Linked DNA regions of Homo sapiens: all the other regions are linked to region 3. The links are contacts of gene promoters, found by promoter capture Hi-C in human tissues and cell types (Jung and others, 2019). All regions are on one chromosome and are shown on one strand. Each heading gives the region's core, a stretch centred on a gene start or on the middle of the fragment in contact. The rest is flanking DNA. Distances are from core to core; before and after follow the strand shown. Region 1 overlaps ABCC3 (ATP binding cassette subfamily C member 3). Region 2 overlaps LUC7L3 (LUC7 like 3 pre-mRNA splicing factor). Region 3 holds the start of MYCBPAP (MYCBP associated protein). Region 4 has its middle 9.3 kb from the start of XYLT2.

The links. The method cuts DNA at HindIII sites, captures the fragments that hold promoters and counts their contacts. A contact is called where the count stands out against the background at its distance.
Region 1: a contact is called between a fragment that was not itself captured here and the fragment with the promoter of MYCBPAP in region 3, in 3 of the 25 tissues and cell types used here (dorsolateral prefrontal cortex, lymphoblastoid cells and neural progenitor cells).
Region 2: a contact is called between a fragment that was not itself captured here and the fragment with the promoter of MYCBPAP in region 3, in 1 of the 25 tissues and cell types used here (stomach).
Region 4: a fragment that was not itself captured here is called in contact with the fragment with the promoter of MYCBPAP in region 3 in 1 of the 25 tissues and cell types used here (aorta).

The regions. Positions count from the first base shown.
Region 1 is chr17:50,639,261-50,642,000 of GRCh38, forward strand. The region is part of intron 1 of ABCC3 (ATP binding cassette subfamily C member 3); the gene reads left to right. Among named protein-coding and RNA genes, the nearest start is that of ABCC3, 5.8 kb to the left of the region's middle. RefSeq lists enhancers at 1-570, 1,020-1,790, 1,468-1,762. The HindIII fragment of the contact is 6,297 bases long and covers 1-2,740 here.
Region 2 is chr17:50,753,022-50,755,914 of GRCh38, forward strand. LUC7L3 (LUC7 like 3 pre-mRNA splicing factor) reads left to right here. Exons shown (of 10, transcript NM_016424.5): 10 at 1-2,893. Among named protein-coding and RNA genes, the nearest start is that of ANKRD40CL, 13 kb to the right of the region's middle. The HindIII fragment of the contact is 7,164 bases long and covers 1-2,893 here.
Region 3 is chr17:50,506,989-50,509,688 of GRCh38, forward strand. MYCBPAP (MYCBP associated protein) reads left to right here and starts at 1,451. Exons shown (of 19, transcript NM_032133.6): 1 at 1,451-1,762. The coding sequence starts at 1,687. RefSeq lists a silencer at 1,157-1,446 and enhancers at 1,467-1,526, 1,547-1,676. The HindIII fragment of the contact is 18,604 bases long and covers 1-2,700 here.
Region 4 is chr17:50,335,453-50,338,152 of GRCh38, forward strand. No RefSeq gene overlaps it. Among named protein-coding and RNA genes, the nearest start is that of XYLT2, 9.3 kb to the right of the region's middle. The HindIII fragment of the contact is 7,744 bases long and covers 1-2,700 here.

The sequences.
Region 1 (2,740 bases), core at 144-2,643, 130 kb after region 3:
CCTCTGAGCTCTTGGCTTCTGGCTACGGCATTTCATTGCTTGTGGCCTCAGGCTGGCTTCTCCTCAATCCTGCTGTTCCCCCACTTCACCTGGGCCTTAGGTCCCTGAGGGCCAGAGAGATACGGGGAAGGAAGTGAGTCAGGGAAGTGGCATTCAGGAGGGAGCTTTGCCAAGCCCGCCTGTAGTCCCCAGACAGGGAAATGGTCTTGAAACACTGGGCAGGCTTCCAGGGAGGAAGGACTTGGCAGGGATGACCAGCTGAGCCACCCCGGAGTAGGGCCAGAGCACCCGGACTGTATTCAGTCCTCTCCATTGGGGCAGGATCCCTGGGGAGTTGGGGGTGAAATGAGACCTGGTATGCCATTGCTGGGGTGGCTGGGCCCCTCCCCTTCCCGAACTGAAGTTGTTTCTGTTTCTGGTACTGCGGTGCAGTGGTTGGGGCTGGCAGGGGGCAGGGTGGGATAGTGAATGAGAGCCTAACTCTAGGCTTGGATTTTGGATTTCTCCTTTTTTTTTTTTTTGTGACAGAGTCTTGCTCTGTCGCCCAGGCTGAAGTGCAGTAGCACAATCTCAACTCACTGCAACCTCCACCTCCCAGGTTCAAGCAATCCTCCTGCCTCAGCCTCCCAAGTAGCTGGGATTACAGGTGCACACCACCATGCCCGGCTAATTTTTGTATTTTTAGTAGAGACGGGGTTTCACCATGATGGCCAGGCTGGTCTCAAATTCCTGACCTCAAGTCATCTGCCCACCTCAGCCTCCTAAAGTGCTGGGATTACAGGCGTGAGCCACCGCATTCAGCCAGATTTCTCCTAACTGGATATTCAGGTTTCTAGTCAGGGGCTCCCAGAACCCCAGCTAGGCCACTACCCAGGTGTTAGCCGCTCTGCTCCCTCAGCTCTGTGAGAATAATTGCAAAAAGCAGGTGATATGAGAATGGGCTGCATGGCTGAAAGGTGATCTGGGTGCAAGTGCTCTATCCCCAGGGTGGGACATCATGCCGGAGTCCTACCAGGTGTACAGGAAACACTAATCCTGTGGGAAGGAGCTGGGCCCTGGAACAAAACTCTCTGGGTCTAATCCCAGCATCAGCCCTGGGTGTCAGCTGTCATGAGCGTGAAATGATCATCCTGGCCCACAGCAGGAGCTCAGTGAACCAAAGCCCCTTCCAGAAGCACATTGGCCAGTTGAGCCCGTGAGCCATCCCTGCAAGGGGCCAGCAGGCGCAGCACAACCAGTTTTTGTTTGTTTGTTTGTTGTGTTGTGTTGTGTTTTTGAGAAGGAGTCTCGCTCTGCCACCCTGGCTGGAGTGCAGTGGCGTGATCTCAGCTCACTGCAACCTCCGCCTCCCAGGTTCAAACAATTATCCTGCCTCAGCCTCCTGAGTAGCTGGGATTACAGGCATGCGCCACCATGCCTAGATAATTTTTTTAAATATTTTTAGTAGAGACAGCGTTTCGTCATGTTGGCCAGGCTGGTCGCAGACTCCTGACCTCAGGGGACCCACCCTCCTCGGCCTCCCAAAGTGCTGGGATTACAGCACAGCCAGTTTTTGACCCCTGCCCCCAGGCCTTCCAAAGGCTGAGGGAGGGTGAGTGGGGATCAGCACGTGTCCTTGCTCTCTCCACGCCTTCATTGCTGCTGAGTCAATGGTCTTGTCTGTTCATCCCTTCCCTATCTGGGACTTCAGGAGCTGCCCTGCAGTGGTGGCTTCCTTCTCCAGTACCACACAGGAATAGGGAAGTAATGACTCTTCTCATGACAGAGACTGTCAACAGGCCTGGGGCCCCCAGGGCTTGGGAAGTCCCTGGCAAAGCTGGGGCAGAGGGCTCCGGGGTCCTCACCCCCCGCCCCCATCGCCTGTATGAGTCTGCAGTGATTTCAGCTTCAGTGACCATGAAGTCTGCCATGAGGGGGCCTCTGCCACGTGGTCCATTCTGGATGTGGGACCTTACCCCTTATCAGCCCCATCCAGCTGTTTAATCGCATTATTAAGGAAGCTGTTGTTGCTGTGGAAACTGTGTGGGTGATGGTGGGGGAGGGGGCTGTGGGCTCAGCTCTCACCTCCCAGCAGTGCTCTTCAGAGCGGGAATGAGAGGAGAGCCTTGAGTAGGGATCGTCATCCTGCCCTGCAGGGATTCAGGGAGTGTTACAGGGTCCAGGGAATAACCTTCACTGGCCCTGTCCTCACCTTCATTTTACACATAACTGAGTTGGAGACCCTTCTGGGTGCCAAGAACTGTGGCCTTGGTACCAGGGAGAGAACACTGTGTTCCTGGGCATGAAGCTGCAGAGGCTGCGGCTGGAGTTGGCACCCTCCATTTATCTATTCATTTGTTTATTCATTCTTTTGTTCAATAGATGGTTATTGAGTACCTTCTCTGTGCCAGGCCCTGCTCTAAGCAACAGGAAATACCATCAACTGCAGAATACAGAGCTAAAGAATCTGTCTTCGTGGAGCATATACTCTAGTGGGAAGAGGCAGTAAAACAAGAATCATAAAGGCCAGGTGCAGTGGCTCATGCCTGTAATCCCAGCACTTTGGGAGGCCGAAGCAGGAGGATCACTTGAGCCCAGAAGTTCGAGACCAGTCTGGGCCACATAGTGGGACCCCATCTCTACAAAAAAATTAAAAAATTAGCTGGGCGTGGTGGCACATGCCTGTAGTCCCAGCTACTCAGGAGGCTGAGGCAGGAGGATCGCTTGAGCCCAAGAGGTCAAGATTACAGTGGGGAAAAAA
Region 2 (2,893 bases), core at 62-2,561, 250 kb after region 3:
TTAAGTCCTGTATCAAGATTAACCCAGCTGTGTCAGTTTATAAATGTATTTGTGTATAGGGTGTGTAGTATATATGGCAAGGGTTTTTTCCCCCCACTTAAGTGATTATTTTTGTGTCACATCTAGGAAAACCGGCAGCATGTTTCTATCTATAGCCAGCTTCTTCGACTGTATAAAAGTATTCTCTCCAGCTACGTATATACACACATACATATATATCATAGCAATTCCTTGTGGTTTATAACTTGCAAATACTGCTATCAGTTTATAGGTAAAGAAACAGTGTGTTAAATGACTTATCCAGGGAGGGTCCTGTGGCTTCATGTTTATGGAGTTGCTAGGTCTCTGCCTCATGGTCCAGTGCCTGTTAAGCCACTGTGTTCATTCTAATAGGCATAATGAATTGTTAAAGAATTTACTAAAATCTCTTCCACCAAACTTTGAAAAATAATGAAGCCGCCCCCACTTTAGAGGCTCTGTATGAAAAAATGCTGTGGAGACAGAGCCCTCCTGGCTCCCTAGCTGATCCTGGAGATGCAGCAATAGATGAATGGGTTATCTCTGAATTTGTAAGAGATAATTCACATGAGGATTAAGATAAAATGGGAAGTAAAATCTAACAAACACAAAGATAGCTCCCAGGCACTGCTTTGTGTAGTTTGACAGCATTGTGGTTGTAGCAGCAAAGGACTTAAAGTGATAGTTTTTAAACCATATTCTGTCCCTAAGTAATAAAAAATCTAGGAAGTTACTAAAATACCAGATTTGTTCTGCTCTGCCTCATCTAGAATCAACGTCTAACTAACTTAAATGAAGTATAATAAATGAGTTCATATGAAAAGGCTTCCTCTATGGACACTTAGATATATTGTAACTATTGAAGTTACCTGGGATGTGGGGGTGGTGGGAGGAGGACCTGCCTCCCCAGGACATCTATGACTAAGGCCTGGCTTTAGTTATGGAGAGAGACGTAGAAGTTGAATTTTACACCCAAAATTGATGTGACTGAAGAGGAACTGATTGTTGCTAACCAGCTCACAAGAATCCAGTATTGAGACCAGTTCACTAGAAGAAACAAACATTTCTGCCATGCAGACCAAAAAGTTATTAGTTGGTGAATATGTATTTTCTCTTTGGAAGGTCTTTAAGGGGAGCAAACCAGTTTTAATCAATCAGATTGCTTGGTAAGTTTGGAATCTGCAATCAGTTGGTCTTAAAAAAAAAAAAACTTTATTTTGGAAATTTAAAGACATACACAAAAGAGGAACAATATAATTAACCTCTGTTAACTCATCACCAACAAGACTCATGACCACTTTTATACTTCATGAGTGATTGTATTTGTATCCACTGTTTTCTATTATTTTCGAGCAAGTCTCAGACACACCATTTAATCTGTAAATAATTCAGCATGTATCTCTAAAAGACAAAGACCTCTTAAATAACAGTTCATTAGTATAAAACAAATTGGGTAAACTTTTGTTGGTCATCAAACTATATTAGCACTGGTCCAATAGTTTAATTTTCATTGAGCCTTTCAAGAGGACCGACCAGTCTGCTGCTCAAGACATCCTCTCCTCTGGAATGTAGAGATAATACATATCATGCTCCTTTTTGTTAAAACGTTTTTTTTTCCCCTTCAAACACAGTCCATTCATTTTTCAGTTTGGGTTGAAACATCCTTTTCTTGATCTTGAGCTTATAATAACCTAGTCATATTGCTCAGCTCAGATATTTTTACTCCCTCTCCTTAGGCATTCTGGTTCCTTAAATATAGTTAGTGTCACAGAGGATAAATAACCAACCTTATTTCTAAGGTCTGAGAACACTTGGACCACATATTGGTTGAGCTCAGCCACCTTCTGATTAAAGTTTTCAGACTTGTAAGAACTGAAAATTTTTATGGTGGAAGTTCTCTGAGCCCTCATCCATTCTGTTTTTAAAAATGCATTGCAGATGGGCTATGTGAATATGTTTTTAAACATCTGATATGTGCATGAAACAAAAAACACTTGAAGTTATTATGTATACAATTCTGTGGGATGGGACTTCATGCAGGATTGGTTTTCAAGTTTGATTTCCTGAGGGATTTTTTAGTTGTTTGTGAAAGAACCCCAGGTCTACTTTTGAAATTTTGTATTATAATTGTAATGTTGCCCATGGTTAAAAAAAAAAAGTGTTCAGTGATCTATGTCTCCTACTACTCCTATTTCTCTGTTTTTCCTCTGCAGGAGCTTGCTGCTGTTAACAGTTATTCTTCCAAGTTGTTTTCTTTGTGGGGAGATGGGAGGTGGGAGGAAATATAAACATATATGTATAGATCTTTCAAAATATATGACGGTATACCCGTATGTTCTGAGTCTTGCTGTTTTTACCTGGTAATATTTAGAAACATTTATTTTGAGATAAAGGAGAGCACTTTTAAGTTGAACCTGTAGTTTTAAAAAGTACATTTCAAGTAAGCCAAAGCAGAGAAGTAAATGTATTTTTCATTGTTGTATCAGAATTTTGAATTTACTATTTTAAAAATTCAAGAGTTTTGTAGCTGATCTATTTCTTCCCCTCAGCCATCCCAAATAGGTCATTTGTCAACAGATTTAAGAATGTTTAGAAACAACAACTTTGGGAAACGGGAAACAATTTGGTATAAGTGGGTGTGCCATAACCTCTCTCGTAGCCATTCATTCCCGGATACATACCCTAGAGAAACTCTTACACATGCGTACCAGGGGATGGATTTAAGCATTTGTGTGTAATAGGAAGAAAAGAAGAAAAAACCCGGGAAGATCCCAAGTGTCCACCAACAGTGTGTTGGATAAATACTGTGGTATATTCCAACAGTGGAATTCCACAGAAGTGAAACTGAACTGCAGCTGTGTATGTGAACATGGAC
Region 3 (2,700 bases), core at 201-2,700:
CCATTTTATGTATGTATATATGTATGTATGGATGTATGAGATGGGGATCTCACTTTGTTGCCCAGGCTGGAGTACAGTGGTGCAATCAGAGCTCACTGCAGCCTGGACCTCCTGGGCTCAAGCAATCTTCCTGCCTTAGCCTCCAGAGTAGCTAAGACTACAGGTGTGGGCCACCAAAGCCAGCTAATTAAAAAAAAATTTTTTTAGGCTAGGCACGGTGGCTCACGCCTGTAATCCTAGCACTTTGGGAGGCCGAGGCGGGCAGATCACGAGGTCAGGAGTTCGAGACCAGCCTGACCAACTGGTGAAACCCCATCTCTACTAAAAATACAAAACTTAGCCAGGCATGGTGGCACTCGTCTGTAATCCCAGCTACTCAGGAGGCTGAGGCAGGAGAATCGCTTGAACCTGGGAGGCAGAGGTTGCAGTGAGCCGAGATGGCACCACTACACTCCAGCTTGGGCACAGAGCAAGACTCCGTCTCAAAAAAAAAAAAAAAAAAATTTTTTTTTTTTTTTAGAATGGAGTCTCCCTACGTTGCTCAGGTCAATTTTGAACTCCTGGCCTCAACCAATCCTCCTGCCTCAGCCTTCTAAAGCACTAGGATTGTAGGCCTGAACCACTGTGCCCAGCAGAGAAAACCGGCTCTCTAGGTCAAGGCATTGGCTCAAGAACACACAGCTAACAAGCCGACATAGCTGGGATTAGAACCCAATTGTCTGGCTCTAGAACCCCTTCACTATTTGAGGTACAATTTACTGCCTGACTACTAGTGCTAAACTTTGGGTTGGGGGCAGGGCCTGAGGCAGCTCCTGCTCTCATACATTCTGAGAGCCAGTTTGACAATAGGCAACTACACAAAAAACCGAAATAATCCCAGAATGCCTCAGGGCTCCAGGGGAAGGCGAAAAAAGCGGGTGCGTTTATAAACTTAAAATAATCAGAGGCAGCATCTCCAAGGACTGTGAGAATGCCCCAAGTCAGGGCAAAAGTTTTGGCTGGTTTGGGAAGTGATGAAAGGCCAAAGTGGCTGCAGCGAGCGTGGACCCGGGAGGTCTCCAGGCGCGTTGGTGCGAGTTGGGGACGGCAGGCAGGGACACCTAAAACCTACGGTACGCCACGAAGGGGTTTCAGCACGTCCTGAAAGGCCCGATCCCCCCCCAGAACCGCTGTGAGGGGGGCAGAGGGAGGTCCCTCGACAGGATGTGGCCTTAGTCGAGGAAGGCGGGAAGCAGGGGCTGGCACCCCCGACGCCCCACCCGCCCCCCGTGGCCTAGCAGCAGGGCGGGGCGAGGCGGGTCATGCACCCCTACCAGCCAGCCACTCCCACCCAGCCCTCGGCTCCCGCAACTCGCGGGGGTCCTCGCCCGGGTCCCCCGCCCCGCCCCGCCCGGCTGGTGACGTCACGGCGCTCGTCGGCGCCGCCTGTGGCGTCACAGGCCGGGCCCGCAGGGCTTTCTAGGGGTCCGTCGCTCTTGAAGCCGCCGGCGGCGGGCGCGTGCGCGGCCCGATGAAGAAGGAGGTTTCCAAGCCGTCTCCGCCCAAGTTGATCGGTGGATGCGCGCCCCCGCGCGGGGCACCGGTTGCTGTGGACGCAGTGGCGGCCGTTGGCTGGCGGGTGCGGCGCAGCCTCGGTGTCTCTGGGCCGGCGGTGCAGGGCAACGTTTCATGGTGCCGGGCGGCACCATGAAGTCTCTAAAGAAGGATTCCCGCCTCAGAATAACTCCGACCAGATTATTAGAGGCCTCAGAGAATGTCAAAGGTTGGCGCTGGCTGCCTTGGGCGCTCGGGAGAACCCGAGAGGGGAAGCGGTCCCCGGAAAGAGTTCAGGACACGGGGCCTGGAGGATGGGGATGGCACCAGGGATGGAGGAAAGATCACGGGGAAGTGGGGTACTGGGCATAGGACCCTTAGGGATGGGGGGCAAGGCAGGAAGAGCCTACAGCGCACTGGGCCTTGGGGATGGGGACATAGGAAGTGGGAGACTGACAGAGGGGCCTCAGGGACCACTGGCTGGGGAGATGGCCTTGCGCTACCTCTAACCACATCTTAGGGTGGCATGCAGGAGGCAGGATCCCCGGACTGGATGAAGTGCAGAAGAGCCAGGAAAGAGTTTAAGGGTAGAAGGGCCAGGAATTGGGGTCCTTGGGAAGAGGAAAGAATGAAGTGTTGAAACCAGCCACCTTGATGGGATTATTTGGTAGAGGAGGGTCGGGGAGCGGGGCAGGCGTCACTTAGGATTCCTGCTGGAAAAACCCAGAAGAAAGGCCTTGCTTGGCTAGTTCTCTTTTTGACTGCCTTTTCCTACCACGTGCACTTTCCAGCTGGATGACACTTATCCAGCTCCTTTAGCCTGGAAAGAATCGCTAGATATGACTGCTTCCTACCCTCTACAGCTTTCTTCTGGTTGCACCTGGGAGAGCCACAGGGCGTCTGATAGCGGACTGACTTCCATGGACATGTTCTCACTTGCAACCCACCCCCTTTTGATCTTTTTTGGCTGTTTCCATTTATTTATTTTTAAATTTAATTTTTAGCTTTTTTTTTCTGTGTGTGTGTGTGTGTGTGTGTGTGTGTGTGTGTGTGTTTGTAAACAGGGCTCTCGCTGTGTTGCCCCAGCTAGTGTCAAATTCTTGGCCTCAAGCGATCCTCCTGCCTCGGCCTCACAGACTGCTAGGATTCCAGGCATGGACCACTGCG
Region 4 (2,700 bases), core at 194-2,693, 170 kb before region 3:
TCTGTCGTTCAGGCTGGAATGCAGTGACACAACCATGGCTCACTGCAGCCTCCACCTCCCAGACTCAAGCAATCCTCCCTGCTCAGCCTCCTGAGTAGCTGGGACTACAGGCATGCACCACCACACCTGGCCAATTTTTTTTTTTTTTTTTTTTTTTTTTAGTAGAGACAACCAGGCTGGTCTCAAAATCCTAAGCTCAAGCAATCCGTCTGCCTTGGCCTCCCAAAGTGCTAGGATTATAGGTGTAAGTCACCATGTCCCACCCCCATTCTATGTTTTTTAAAATGTAGCCATAATCCTTTAAATTGAGTGGGTTGTGACCTGTAGTTTGAACTACACTGATCTAGAAAAACCTAAAGGATAGGCCATGTTGTCATTCATGTATGAAGGCAACAAAAAGACCTCAGGTGTGGAAGTTATTTTTAAAAGAATCCCTCCTGAATACTCTTCTTTAATAAATCACTTGAAGATGTATGCCAGGACAGTAGAGAAAAAATCAGATGTAAATACTCAAGAATGAGAAAAATATCTAGCTTGAAGCACCTGCTTAGAGGTTTAGGGGAAGGAGAGTTTTCATGTCTTCTCAAGACTACAGATTGCTAGCACCTTTTTGCAATGTTCTGGCAATATCTTTTAAAAGAGAAATGTACATACCCATCTCACTCTTGGAAATCTATCATACAAAAATAAAGACACCAGTATATCAGGTGATATGAACTAAGATGCTTCTTGAAGCCATATGTGTAGGGGCAAAATAACTAGCAATGACCTCAATGCCCAATAACAGGTGAATGGCTTAATAAATTATGGTGTATCTATACTAAAGTAATAAACATTATGTAGCTATTATGTATTAACCTGGAGGGGTATCCATGATAAAATGATGATTTATTTAAAAACACAGTGTTGGGTAATTTCTGTATCATCTTACTTCTGTAAAACATGGAGTGGAAACCTACCAAAGGGTTGACATCTGCATATATTTATATGAGCAGAGAGAAGAATGTGGAAGCAACAAAGCAAACGGGCCAGGCTGGTTAATTCTAAGTAGAGAGCAGAGGGGAAAGAAAGGGAGATCATTGGCTGTTCTGAAACAGTTTTTAATTAATTCGTTGCCTTATTTTTGAAATTTTTGAACTATTTCTTTTGAGACAGGGCCTTGCTCTGTCACCCAGGCTGGAGTGCAGTGGTGTGATCATGGTTCACTGCAGCCTCACTCCCCTGAGCTCAAGCAATCCTCCCACCTCAGCCTCCTGAGTAGCTGGGACTACCGACGGTAGTCCCACATCTGGCTAATTTTGGTATTTTTAATACAGATGGGGTTTTGCCATGTTGCTCAGGCTGGTCTCAAACTCCTGGGCTCAAGCTATCTGCCTGCCTCAGGAAGTAATTTTTTAAATTATCTACTTGGCAAAGGGCATTGAACAAGTTAATATATATGCATTACTCTAAATATTTTTAAATAGTCTCAAAACTGAAGATTAAAAAAAAGAGAGATTATTCCCTTAAAAGAAATTAGCTACATTATAAACCAAAATGACAAAGTTCATAACCCCAGATGAACTTTTAACAAGTGAGAATGATCCTTGTTCACATAGTAGAGAGAGAAAAGAAGTGGGGATGAATAGGGAGAAACTAATTTTCTACAATGGGAAATAAAAATTATAGTTCTATGAGGACTGTGATCATTGAATATCTGTGAAGGCTAAAGCAACTCCATATTGGAGGCTAAGCCGCCATGATGACTTCTGATTAGCCCCAATTCTGGGAATTCCTCTAAGCTTTCCAGTCTATCTATTGTTACCTGTGTAAGAACAGGTACTTACCTCCCTTAGGTCAAAACAACTTTGATGTTATCATACTTCAATTGTCCTTCACCTGCCTTCTGGATCACATATACCCCTTCCCTGTGGTAGATAAGCCCTGGGTCTTAGGGGGTAACATCTTGTCTCCCTGCCAGCCACTGCACAAGACACAGACCTGGCTTCTGTTTCTAATTTCCTATTGTTTATTTCTAAGAAACTGAATTTGTCAGCCTTTTTCTTCAGTCTCTCAGTTTCCTTGGACTTTGGCGACAGGTTTGCACAGGCCTACCCACTGAGGAACAATGTCACATTAAAATTATCTGAAAAGTTGTAAGTAAACACAAGTAGAATTTTAAAAAGAATTCTAGAGCTAGCACAGTGGTGCACACCTGTAGTCCCAGCTACTTGGGTGGCTGAAGAGGGAGGATCACCTGAGTCCAGGAATTCAAGGCCAGCCTGGGCAATATAGTAAGATGCTCCTTGTCTAAAAAAAGAAAAAAAAATTTTTTTAAAGAATTCTAATTCTTGCTTTCTAAATTATTAAGGAAGATTATAGCAGACGAACAGTCTATATAGCCCTGAAAGGAAAATTAACAGCAAAATGCGTTTAAGGCCTAAAACTCAGGCGCAGTATTAAATGCTGATACTGACTTTATATGCGGTGAAATTGGGAGGCTTTGACTGGCCTAGCCACAAGTTCACCTCCTCACTCTGCTCCCTTGGATAAGGTCCCCCAGCCAAATAACCCCCCTTATCAAGGGGACCAGGAGCACTTCCTGCTTATTCCTGAGTAGTGGGTTTCAGTTTCCTGCCAGCCTGCAGCCTGCATAATTATCCACATAAGCCAGTCACATCTTCCTGCTGAAACTAGGGGACATCTCATCCTCTTGATACT